4 separate regions of the Homo sapiens genome follow, and regions 1, 2 and 3 are each linked to region 4. Evidence: promoter capture Hi-C in human tissues and cell types (Jung and others, 2019). All regions are on one chromosome and are shown on one strand. The core of a region is centred on a gene start or on the middle of the fragment in contact, and the rest is flanking DNA. Distances in the headings are between cores, read along the strand shown. Region 1 has its middle 260 kb from the start of PSMD7-DT. Region 2 has its middle 42 kb from the start of ZFHX3-AS3. Region 3 has its middle 350 kb from the start of PSMD7-DT. Region 4 holds the start of HP (haptoglobin).

Region 1 (2,777 bases), core at 149-2,648, 1.9 Mb after region 4:
TCCATGTCCCAGCCTGGAGTTGGGCATGCTGCATAATCTCACCCTGGTCTCCTGGAGATAACGTTTCCTCCTTGCTCTCTTAGAGTAGGCAGGAGAATATGATATTTACAAGAAAGTGCTTTGATGGGGGTGTGGGGATAGCTTGGATTTGAATCTCAGGTCATCTACCTATTTGCTGTAGGACCCTGCACTATACTTCCTTATACCTGTTTCCACACTCTTCAAGTTGGCATAATAATATTCTATTTCATGATAACATACAAAAATAAGTTTTGATTCTAAACCTAGAATATAAAACAGTGCCTGGCACAAAGAATAATATATATACACCTACTAAATAAAAACTACACTCCTTCTCCCCCAAGATTGTCGTGATAGAAATGCATCATTCAGGGAGCAAGAAAAAAAGACCCCACCACAGTTCAAGATGCCACTCAAAGCATAACACTCAGGCCATGGCCTATTTGGTTTCTACATCAGGTCTGCCCCACCCACCTTTAGCTTTCAGTGGACTAAAGACAAAAAGGGTCTAATGCATTCCTGGCGGTTTTTCAAAGCATGGCAGAAGTGAGTCGGGTTTATAAGATTAATTCTTTTCACTCTAGGCAGTGGGTCATATCAGAACCTTCACTCAACCAACTCAGTGGATAATCTCCTTTTATTACTTTCAATCAAACTAAGTGTCTGCAATCTGTACAATGGCCACCAATTTAGTGGGAAACAATAATTTGTAGAGCATGATTATAAAAAGATGAGATAGAACACAAGGTCCAGATAAGCATCCTGTAAGTTTGTTCCTATCTCATTGCATAGAAAGCTTTTATGACCCAAACTACATTAGGGACATACAGCTGTTCTGCTATGCTAAAAATCAAAGAAAGAAATAGACATTGTTCACAGATCAGTTTCTTATTTAAATAAGAGAAACAGCCTATTGGTTAAATTCATATCCTTTGTCATACTCACATGGAGCGATCCATCGCTCGTACAAGTTAAACATGAAAAGATTTCATTGTATAAAAACCAGAAGCTTCTTTTAAAAGATAATAAAATTCTAGTTACACAACTGGACAACATCACAAAGCCGTCTGGATTGTGGAAACCACTCTCTTCCCGTGATGGATAATAAGGCATGGGGTTTTGCTTGCTTTGATTAATTTCAGAATATTGCAGAGAACCCGCATAATCCCTAAGATAGCAAAGGAGAGAAGGAGAAGCGATGGGCAATGATAAAAGCGTAGTAATGGAGCAGGAGCTGTGTTTCCTCTGCTGTAGGAACGCTCCCCTCTGCACCGCCGCACCCACCCTCCCCGCAAAAAAAGAAACCAATTTCATTTTGGCAAGTACTAACCACAATAAGAGTCGACACACAAAAATGTCCTCTGGCTCTGGGGCTTAAATTATATGCACCGAGGCCGAGCAATGCAAAACAAAAACTATGAGATGTCTCCATGACTGTGATCAGATATATAACATAGCTGGAAAACGTACATTTCCCTTTTTTCAAAGCACAGCAGCCATTATTTATACAAGTACTGAATATGGAAAAGGCTCTGACAAATTTACAGTGGTGTTTGGATGGATGAGGATGGTGGATGATGGATGAGGGAGACGGAGGATTCCCTTATTAAAGCATCAAATTCTTCCCTAAATATCAAATAGACATCTTAGCCACAACTGCACTGCTTCTTGCTCAAAATTACATAAACCAACCCTGTTAAATGTTTTTCTTTAATAGGAAAAGGCAGGATTTTCTCCTAATAAATATTGTTAATTTGGACTCTGGCATTACGTACCTTTCCTTTTTTGCATAATGTGGACTTCAAAGTGTATGCCTGTCAAACAAGAATAAATGTGACAATTCACAAATATAAATGAATGCCAGCAAAAAACTGAGGCACAATCTCAAGCATGCTATTTTGTTCTAAAATTTTAGTAAATAATTTAAGTAGATATAATCTTCCAAGTGTATTTTTGGTGTCTTTTTGACAGGACAGAAGCTCTGAAGGGGCGGAAACTCACCATTCACTATACGATTTTTTTATCCTGTGCCCAGATTTTAAAATATACAGAACGTTAGAAGCACTGCAGTGCCCACTAGTGGACACATCAGAATCACAGCTGCCTCCTGTCCTCTTTCAATGAAAACCAGTCCAAAGGCATTCACCATAGTGGAGTAAAAAACAGGAAGAAAGAGTATGAAATAAAAAGCATCTGCTTTAAAACCCGTTTGCGTGACCATTCACTTCTTATTTTATCTTTACAATGATAACAGAGGCATGCACAAAGAGAAAAACTTTCTTCTGCGAGGCTCAACTTTTCTATCATTTGATCCTATTGTAAAGTCAATGGTACACAGAGCTGTATTTGGCGGCACTGAAGATACTCTTTAAATGAATAAAATGCTCTGTGTTTAATGACTCTTGACCTGGAAGGAGTTAGGATATAACATATAAAAGTTCGTCTCAATACAAAGAAGTGCGTCTTTACAAATTCTAACCAATCCTACTCCAATCAAGTTACCCCTTGTTACTTGGGGTAACCCTTGCTCTGCAGCGAATTGTTAGCACAGTCTCTTTTAATAGTGACAGATCCTGTCTACTCATACCCTGTAATGACATCACTAGAAAAAAATCTTTGAGCATTAGCACAATGTACATGTAATCCAACAGCAATCTGATTATAATTTACCAGAGAACAATGTTTACACATTGCAAGTGTTACTGATTCCTTTTTTAAAAAATGAAAAACAAGCCTCATTTTGTATTTTAATGTTT
Region 2 (3,133 bases), core at 602-3,101, 1.1 Mb after region 4:
AGATGGAGTCTTGCTCTTTTGCCCAGGCTGGAGTGCAGTGGCGTGGTCTTGGCTCACTACAACCTCCGCCTCCTGGGTTCAAGCGATTCTCCTGCCTCAGCCTCCCAAGTAGCTGGGATTACAGGCGCAAGCTACCACGCCTGGCTACTTTTTGTATTTTTAGTAAAGACAGGATTTCACCATATTGGCCAGGCTGGTCTCGATCTCTTGACCTTGTGATCCACCCAGTTCAGCCTCCCAAAGTGCTGGGATTACAGGCATGAGCCACCGCGCCCGCCCACATCTGGGTATTTCTAAGAGGCAGTATGTTATCCTGCTTAACATAAAAGGGTGAAGACATTCTCCAACGTCTCTACCTTCTAGAAGCTGCTGGGCCACACCCCGGGGATTCCAAACCCTTTCCGGGCATGCCAAAGGCCAGTGAGCAGCTAGCAGAATTCTAATCACGTGATCATTGTTCACTGGGGTCGGCAGATGCCACTGTCATTGCTTCCTTTACGTTTATTGCTTGAGACACTTGAAATTAGGCCTGACATAGCAATAACAAATGTACTACAGGGAACGAGCCGGCACTGGACCCTAGGGAATGATCTAGAAGACTTAATAGGTCTTTTCCGTCTTTAATTTCCATGGTTCTAAATATGCCGGCTGCTTATAAAGCAGAAGATTGATTCTGAGGCAGACTGGTTAGTTTTGGAAGCAGTGAGTGGAGAGGATTTTGCTTTTTGCAGCCATGTTCCTTGATGCCCACTTTAGGCTGGATGTGGTTTCTGAGGGCAGCCCTGGCATCTCTCCTTTCACCTCTCTTTGGTAGGGAGCAAATGGGGAAGGAGTTGTCTTGGGCATTCCCCCTGAGCTCACCAACAAGGTATGAGCATCTCCGTGTACCGGGAACTCCTCCTTGTCTGTATGGTGAAAGTGTAAGGACTGGGCAGGCATGGTGGCTCATGCCTGTAATCCTAGTGCTTTAGGAGGCTGAGGCAGGAGGGTCACCTGAGCCCAGGAGTTCAAGACCAGCCTGGGCAACATAGGGAGACCCTCATCTCTAAAAAAATTAAAAAAAAAATTAAAAACTAAAAGTCTAAAGACACACAATTGAGAAATGGAGGTGATGTTATGGGCTCACCAACATCTCACATCCACTCTTGAAAGAAGCCAAGTGCTCAGCGTCAGTGGTGAGCCTCCCTAGGAAGAAGTCTTTTTGTTTCTTCATAAGATAGAGTGAGCATCTTGACCACTCCTTATCTGAGGCCAAGGGACTAAGACTCACCTTAAGGAACGCACCTTTGGAAGCAGGAAGCTGCTGACATGTGTAATGGTGTGACTTCGTATTACACAGCTGGTGAATTCATTTTGGAAGTGGCTGTGTGGGGGAAGAAGTTGCTGTTTTTCCTTTGGTAATTGTTCCCATTGGCTTCGCCCACCCCCATCCCCACTATGATGCAAGGAAACAATTATAGGAATAAAAAAGACACAGCTAAGTTTAGAGAGAATGGGGACAGGCACTAGGAGTTTCCAAGTTTTCTTTGAGCTCACACATAGATTGCCTTTTTCTGGACATGGGAAAGAAGAACAATTTCAGTTTTTCCAGCCATAAAACAGGGAACTTAATGATTGCTTGCATCATAGAAAATGTTATAAGGACAAACTAGCTTACATTTTTACACTGGCCTGCAGACACACTCTATTACATAAGTGAAGAGGATCTTTCATGACAGTGAAGGTGTGCGTAAGAAGGGGACCCAGGCATCTGTTCACTTTTCTGTCTCCATTTCCAGGGTGAGATACACAGCTGGAAAAGCTACTTGTTGTGGCTGATGAAATGCCAGCACTGATATCATGCTTTGAACCGTTTTATCCGGATTTAAGGAGCCAGTTTCCAATTAATCAGACTCCAAGGTCACTCACCGAACCAGTGTCTCAGGTAGAGGAGGATTATGTGTGGGGGAGAGCAGAGTGGGGACATGAGGGACTACAGGGCGAAGGAAGAAAAGGGAGAAGGATAGAGACCAGGGTGAAGAGGGACTGGATTTTTTTTTTTTTGTAAATTGCCGGAATTTGAAATAATCATTGGTTAGGGGAAACGTGTTGGCTTACTAAAAACCCTTTTTAGTTTGCTACCCCCTAAAAATGGGACCAAATCCATGGCTGAAAAGGATCCTGCTTTCCTGGTGGCTGTGTGGTGGCTCTGCCCAGCCTGATGTCATATTCAGAGGCGTGGGAGAGGCAGAGCCCCTCCTGCAGGAGCTGTTTCATCAGGATTCTGTGGGCTTTCTATGCAACCCCTCTTAAAAATCTGAAAATGAAACAAGACATATTTCTGAGGTTGTCAGCAGGTAGATCCACTGGTTTGTGGTAAGTAATCTCTCTGGGAGGAAGTCTTGGCTCTGATGTCTGTGTTGAACGTTCCGTGGCTCCCCCCGGCCGCCCCAGCACAGGTCTGTTCGCTGGGCAAGGAGGCGGTGATGATATTGCTTCTAACAACCAGACTGAAGCGTAGCCTCAGGCTGTCTTGCAAAGCCCCTTCCAAACTGCCTCTAATTAATTTTTATCCTGCCATCCCAATGAGTCCCGGGGGTACAACAACCCAACAACAGAAAAACCCTCATCAAGTCATTTGGAGAAAGCTTTGACGTAACGCTTGCAGATTTTAGATCTCCAAAAGAGGAAATGCTGCAGAAAAACAAAAAACCAAACCAAACCCCTCCCGTTTGGTCACCTCCATCCTACTCGATTTTTCCCCCCAGATTCTCACCTTTTCTTTACAGTGGCAGTAAGTCTGATCTCTCTCTGGTCCCCTCTCACCCACGGCTCTTTCAGAGACAATACAGAGCTGTATTTCTTTTTTTTTTCTGCGGGAAGACAACCCTGAATTCCCTGTGGTCTGGGGTCAGGTACCTGCACTGGGCTGCCCTGGGAATCTCTTAAAAGAGGGGAAGGAGAAAAGCTGGCCTCTCTGGCTTGTAGCCGCGGTGGGGCCAGGCCTCCTCATGCTGTGCAAACACGCTTTAGTGGACATATGTTGGGAGCAGAGGGAAGGTTCCACAAAGAGGAATCTGACCCACCAAACACATCAAACATGCAGCACCCTGGGCCTCCCCCGTTAGAAGTGCTGCTGGCAGCAGCTCAGTCG
Region 3 (2,931 bases), core at 360-2,859, 1.8 Mb after region 4:
GCCAGATCCTGAGCTGGGTTCTGCTTCACTCACCCATGCACCTAGACATCACGTAGCTTAGTAAGGTGGATTGCTCACCACTTGCAAAGCCGATGCTCCCCAGCATCACGGGAACCACAAAAGGACCACGGAGGTGACCTTCACTTGGAGTCAATCACAATCTCAGACAAAGCCAAGGTGGGGTTTCTCCCCGATATTTTAGGCTTAGTGCTTCTTAGTTTGACCACTGACAATAACAGGCTTACAGACCAGTGTTCTTTTCTCGTTTATACTAATCCTCATGGTACTTAACACTTTACAGTTGTGATAGTTAATAAGTATGTTTAGTAAGAAGGTATAGTGGACACCTATCGTTTTTCTGGGCATCTGATGTACCCATTCCCCCTCCCAAATGCACTCTGATATCTGTAGATAATTGTATCCCCTCCATTAGGTTAGGCTTGCTGAGAAGGTGGGTTCAGGTGCCTCACTGTCATTTGAGAATTGGCAGCGTTCTGATACTTCCCAGAGGTGGGCCTGTGGCCTCAGCTTGACCAAGGTGATGTCCTCTCAAAGGACTTTGCATCTTGAACACAAGAACAGTGAGAACATGGTGAGTCTTTCATCAGAGCAGCAATGAGGGCCGGCCAACCAGGCCATTCTCCCTAGCGCTGGGTGCCAGGCTTCCTTCTTCATACCTCCAGCCCTCGGAGCTCCCTTCTCCTGCCCCTCCCTAAACCTGGTCTTCTTGTCTCTGGTTGATGCTTTTTGTTCTTCTTTTCCTCCCAATAAATCCCCGTTCGTTAAATAGCCCAGAGTTCATTTCGGCATGTGTAACAAAGAGCCATAACGAATACAGACAATAGAAAACCTGATGGTGAAATCTACAGTGTCCACATCACCCTCTGAAGTCAAGGTTCAACAATGCGGCCAAGTGGGGTGGCTCACGCCTGTAATCCCAGCAGTTTGGGAGGCCAAGGCAGGCGATCACCTGAGGTCAGGAGTTCAAGACCAGCCTGGCCAACATGGCAAAACCCTGTCTCTACCAAAAATACAAAAAAATTAGCCGGGCCTGGTGGCATGTGCCTGTAATCCCAGCTACTCGGGAGGCCGAGACAGGTGAATTGCTTGAACCTGGGAGGCAGAGGTTGCAGTGAGCGGAGATCACGCCACTGCACTCCAGCCTGGGCAACAGAGCAGGATTCCATCTCAAACAAACAAAAAAGATTTAAACAATGTAACAGTTGCTGAGTGGCATTCCCACAGCTTCCCTCTGTCCCCCTCTGAAAGTTGTATGCTGTGCATTTTACCATGTGAACGCAAAACTTACTTCCCCTTAAGGACAACTCCTTAGACACTGTAAAAAACCTAAGCATATTAACTGAAATTTTTTCACTTAAATGTAAAGGCTATCCCAGTGCAAAATTACTAAGTGTACACTGAAGGGTTTCTTTCTTTCTTTCTTTCTTTCTTTTTTTAATGAGCAGCTTTTCCTTCTTGTCCTGCCATATTGCCAAGCTCCATATTTTTATGTCAATACTCTGCATGATCAATTTATAATCTAAAGGCTTTAAAGCAGCTATTGACCTGCTTTTAAAATAGCATTTTCATTCTTTCTCATGATTTCATAATCTTCTTTACACCATTTCCTTGCCTTGGAACTTGTCCCCTTCAAAAATGGTCAATGTTGTCCTGATCAATTTAAACTAGGAGGAAAGGTCCAGTGAGTGCTCTGGCGGGATTTGTCCAGGTCACTATTCTTTAAGAATATGTCACATTAACCTCCCCAGTAGCTAGTCATGTTCACAACACTCTTTTAAAAACCTTATCCTGGTCAAGGCACACATAAATTGTACAACTTTTGAAACACAGTTGGTCGCAGAGCTGCAAATTCATAGTAGAGCAACCTACAGGGTGTTTTAGAAAAGACAGCATTTTAAATATGACTCATGAATAAGCAAACAGCCCCGACCACCCAAATCAACTTGAAGAGTAAACACAGAGGGAATGTTTAGCTAAATTTTAGATGCCATTTGATGAAGGAAAAGGGCTAAAACTTATCAGCTGAGAATGAATTATGTCAATACCACAAACGCTAAGCAACTGCAGAGAACTGTCTTCAAGCAAAAGTTACACAGGCAAAAGGCTAACTGTTTATGCACCATAGATAAAATACACTCTACTACAAAGGGATTGCCCATGCAAAAGATAACTGGAGAAATGCTTTAGAAAACGCAGGATATACATACATAACTTATTTGTGTATTTGCATGACTGTATTTAAGGATTATCATGGGAAAGAAATAGGCGCTTACATATATACTGGGACAGAAAATAAAAACTAGGCAGCTTTTAACTTGTTTCTATCTATAAGTTCTGGTATGTGACCTACTGAAGCCAACTACCCCAATATAAAGCTGTGGAGGTAACAGTATTCATGATACATAAGACTTAGAGAGAAACCAAAAGGAACTTCATAATGTTTAACCGGGCTTCCTGTTTATTTAGAGGGAGGTAGCGGTCTCCTGCTTTAGCAAGTTTTTTACAGACAGAGATTAAGTCTCTTATATGTGGAATCTTGGGGCCCCAGGACAGTGCCTGGAACAAAGCAGATGCTCAATAAACATTCATTTCATTCAGTCCAATTCTCGTGTATCTTCTCTCAGTGTCAAGCTTCTAACTGGGAATAAAGTAGTTTAATAAAGCTTCTTGAATCTTTGGAAAAGAAAACCTTTGACTCTTTATTGAGCTATTTCTGAATACAGAGTATACGTAGGAAGGTCAAAATTTCATCTTTTCCATCTTCCTCACTAGAAACCTAGTTATATGTCATCTTTAGGGATAAAGAAAGATAGGTCCCTCATAATCAATTTACATACAATCAAGGTTTGCTGTTTGCATTGTGTGCAATTCAGGGACCTCGAGAGAATCTCCCCCGTACCACTGGGCATT
Region 4 (2,817 bases), core at 76-2,575:
TTTTTTTGAGACAGAGTCTTGTTCTGTCACCCAGGCTGGAGTGCAGTGGTGCGATCTAGGCTCACTGCAACCTCTGCCTCCCAGGTTCAAGCAATTCTCCTGCCTCAGCCTCCGAGTAGCTGGGATTAAAGCATGCGCCACCATGCCTGGCTAATTTTTGTATTTTTAGTAGAGATGGAATTTCACCACATTGGTCAGGCTGGTCTCAAACTCCTGACCTCATGATCCGCCCACCTCAGCCTCCCGAAGTGCTGGGATTACAGGCGTGAGCCACCACGCCTGGCCTGTCTTCATTTTATTAATACTGTCTTTTGATACACAAATGTTCATTCCGATGAAGCCCAATTTATCTAATTTTTCTTTGATTGCTGGTGATTTTGGTGTCATTATCTAAGAATCCATTGCCAAGTTTTACTTGGTTTTGATCTCTAGAAGACTGCCATCATACTGAAGGTAATCTTCTGAAACTTGCGGTTTTCTTTCAAAAATTATGTTTATAAGATGATCCATGTTCTTGCAGAGTTTATTCATTTTATGCTGTATAATATTCCATTATATCCACATACAATGCAGTATTGACCCTTCCTCCTGTTGATGGGCATTTGTCTTGTTTCTAGTTACTTTGCTATTATATCAGTGTCACCATGATTATCCAAAAGTAATTCTTTTGTACACTCTAATTTAAGAACAACTAACCCTTTTTAATGAATAAATCAACCTTGTATTGAGTTGCTACTAAGTTTCAGTTGACTAGTACCTGGGATACACACAGGTGCAGACATTTGACTGAGACATATTGATTTTTCTCATCTGCCTATTTAGGCTAATCACCAGACTATAAAACCATGAGAACCACTGCCATTGAGTATAGTCTGTGTCAGTCTACACTATAGCTTTAACTAGTTGTGTGATTTCTTGCAAAGAGCAATCAGAGAAGACACAATAAACACATTTACTGATTTCAGGCTGGAGAGCTTTTAAGCAATAGGGAGATGGCCACACACAAGGTGGAGAAAATTACTGTGAAAAGGAAGTACTTTCTTTAGAGCCCCACCTAAGCTAGGCTGCAGAAATGTCTACAATGGGTTTGAAAAAACTCAAAATGAGCCTTTCTGCAGTGTGAAAATCCTCCAAGATAAAGAGACAGATTGATGGTTCCTGCCGCCGCCCTGTCCTGCCCAGTTGCTGATTTCAGGAAATACTTTGGCAGGTTTGTGGGTCATAGAGTTGCCAGGTTTCTTGGGATTTGTAATAGAACATCACAAGAAAATCAAGTGTGAAGCAAGAGCTCAACTCTTAACAGGGGTATTGTTTGTGGTTTTGTTACTGGAAAAGATAGTGACCTTACCAGGGCCAAAGTTTGTAGACACAGGAATTACGAAATGGAGAAGGGGGAGAAGTGAGCTAGTGGCAGCATAAAAAGACCAGCAGATGCCCCACAGCACTGCTCTTCCAGAGGCAAGACCAACCAAGATGAGGTGGGTCCACAGCTTTCCCTCCTGCCTTTCCTCTGGTTCTTTATTTCAGTCTTTTTTGCATACATCGGTAGAGATGCAGAAATAGAACAAAGAAACGGGCAAATGGGCTAAATTATAGTGAACCAAAGGGCTTAGTGTGTTAAATCTTCTCCTTTTCTGCATCCATAGAAGACAGTGCTGCTGTCTTTCCCAGGAGATAAGATTTACTCTCAGGAGTGTCTTTTTCCTTCAGGTTACATTTTTGACTTTATAGGGTATGTCATCAGCTCCCGTGGTAGGCTTCCTGGCATCCTGAGTATATTTATTAGCAGATATTTTCCTCTTTAAAAATGTACAATAAGGAAGACTAATAGTAACACATTTGAATGACACAATTAATTGACTAGTACCTGGGATACACACTAATACCTGGGATACATCTAATTAAGGCACTTAGATCTTATAAAAATAAACACTTTTTGAAATGTTGAAATAATAAGACTAGAAACTTTTTTTTTTTTTGAGATGGAGTCTCGCTTTGTCACCAGGCTGCAGTGCAGTGGCATGATCTCGGCTCACTGCAACCTCCACCTCCCAGGTTCAAGTGATTCTCCTGCCTCAGCCTCCCAGGTAGCTGGGACTACAGGCGTGCGCCACTATGCCCACCTAATTTTTGTATTTTTAGTAGAGACGGGCTTTCACCATGTTGGCCAGGATGACCTCGATCTCTTGACCTCGTGATCTGCCTGCCTTGGCCTCCCAAAGTGCTGGGATTACAGGCATGAGCCACCGTGTCTGGCCTAGAAACTATTTTAATAGAAGCAAGTAGTGCCCGAATGGTTGGCATTTGTTAGTGAGATGGTGAACTGGCAGACGGCACCTGTGGGTCAATGCCCATGGCCACCGTCCTGCTTTTGGACACCAGTTCTCTTCCAGGTAACCTTCTGGCATTTTGGGGTTTCAGATACCATTTCCTAAAGGTGAATTATTATAAAATACTAGAAATACCCACGTGTTTAAAATTATATATTTAAGGAACCTTTTATTACGGAAAATATCAAGAAGTAGAGGAATAGCACAGTAAGCCCAAAGTTCCCATCTCTGAGTTATCTACATTTTATTACCACTATCTTTGCGGTGTCTGAGGGAGGTTTCTCTTTCCTGGAGGGCTCCTGTATTATTGCCAATGTACTTTCCTGAATGCAGCCAGAAACTGAGCCCACCCCTCCACCTATGTGCCTTTCTATCCCTCTCTGAAGCTTCTGCAGAATTCCCAGCAGGACAGGGCTTGCTGGAAGCTTGGTATGCTCAGAAGCTGCTAAAGTGTGTATGGGCAGGTGTGGGGGCAATTTCTTGGTCC

What was found. The method cuts DNA at HindIII sites, captures the fragments that hold promoters and counts their contacts. A contact is called where the count stands out against the background at its distance.
Region 1: a fragment that was not itself captured here is called in contact with the fragment with the promoter of HP in region 4 in 1 of the 25 tissues and cell types used here (dorsolateral prefrontal cortex).
Region 2: a contact is called between a fragment that was not itself captured here and the fragment with the promoter of HP in region 4, in 1 of the 25 tissues and cell types used here (mesenchymal stem cells).
Region 3: a contact is called between a fragment that was not itself captured here and the fragment with the promoter of HP in region 4, in 1 of the 25 tissues and cell types used here (dorsolateral prefrontal cortex).

The regions. Positions count from the first base shown.
Region 1 is chr16:73,954,690-73,957,466 of GRCh38, forward strand. No RefSeq gene overlaps it. Among named protein-coding and RNA genes, the nearest start is that of PSMD7-DT, 260 kb to the right of the region's middle. The HindIII fragment of the contact is 3,438 bases long and covers 1-2,777 here.
Region 2 is chr16:73,188,883-73,192,015 of GRCh38, forward strand. It overlaps a transcript of ZFHX3 not described here. Among named protein-coding and RNA genes, the nearest start is that of ZFHX3-AS3, 42 kb to the right of the region's middle. The HindIII fragment of the contact is 4,064 bases long and covers 1-3,133 here.
Region 3 is chr16:73,867,334-73,870,264 of GRCh38, forward strand. It overlaps a transcript of ZFHX3 not described here. Among named protein-coding and RNA genes, the nearest start is that of PSMD7-DT, 350 kb to the right of the region's middle. The HindIII fragment of the contact is 3,836 bases long and covers 1-2,931 here.
Region 4 is chr16:72,053,180-72,055,996 of GRCh38, forward strand. It overlaps HP (haptoglobin), which reads left to right and starts at 1,326. Exons shown (of 7, transcript NM_005143.5): 1 at 1,326-1,478. The coding sequence starts at 1,474. The HindIII fragment of the contact is 10,372 bases long and covers 1-2,817 here.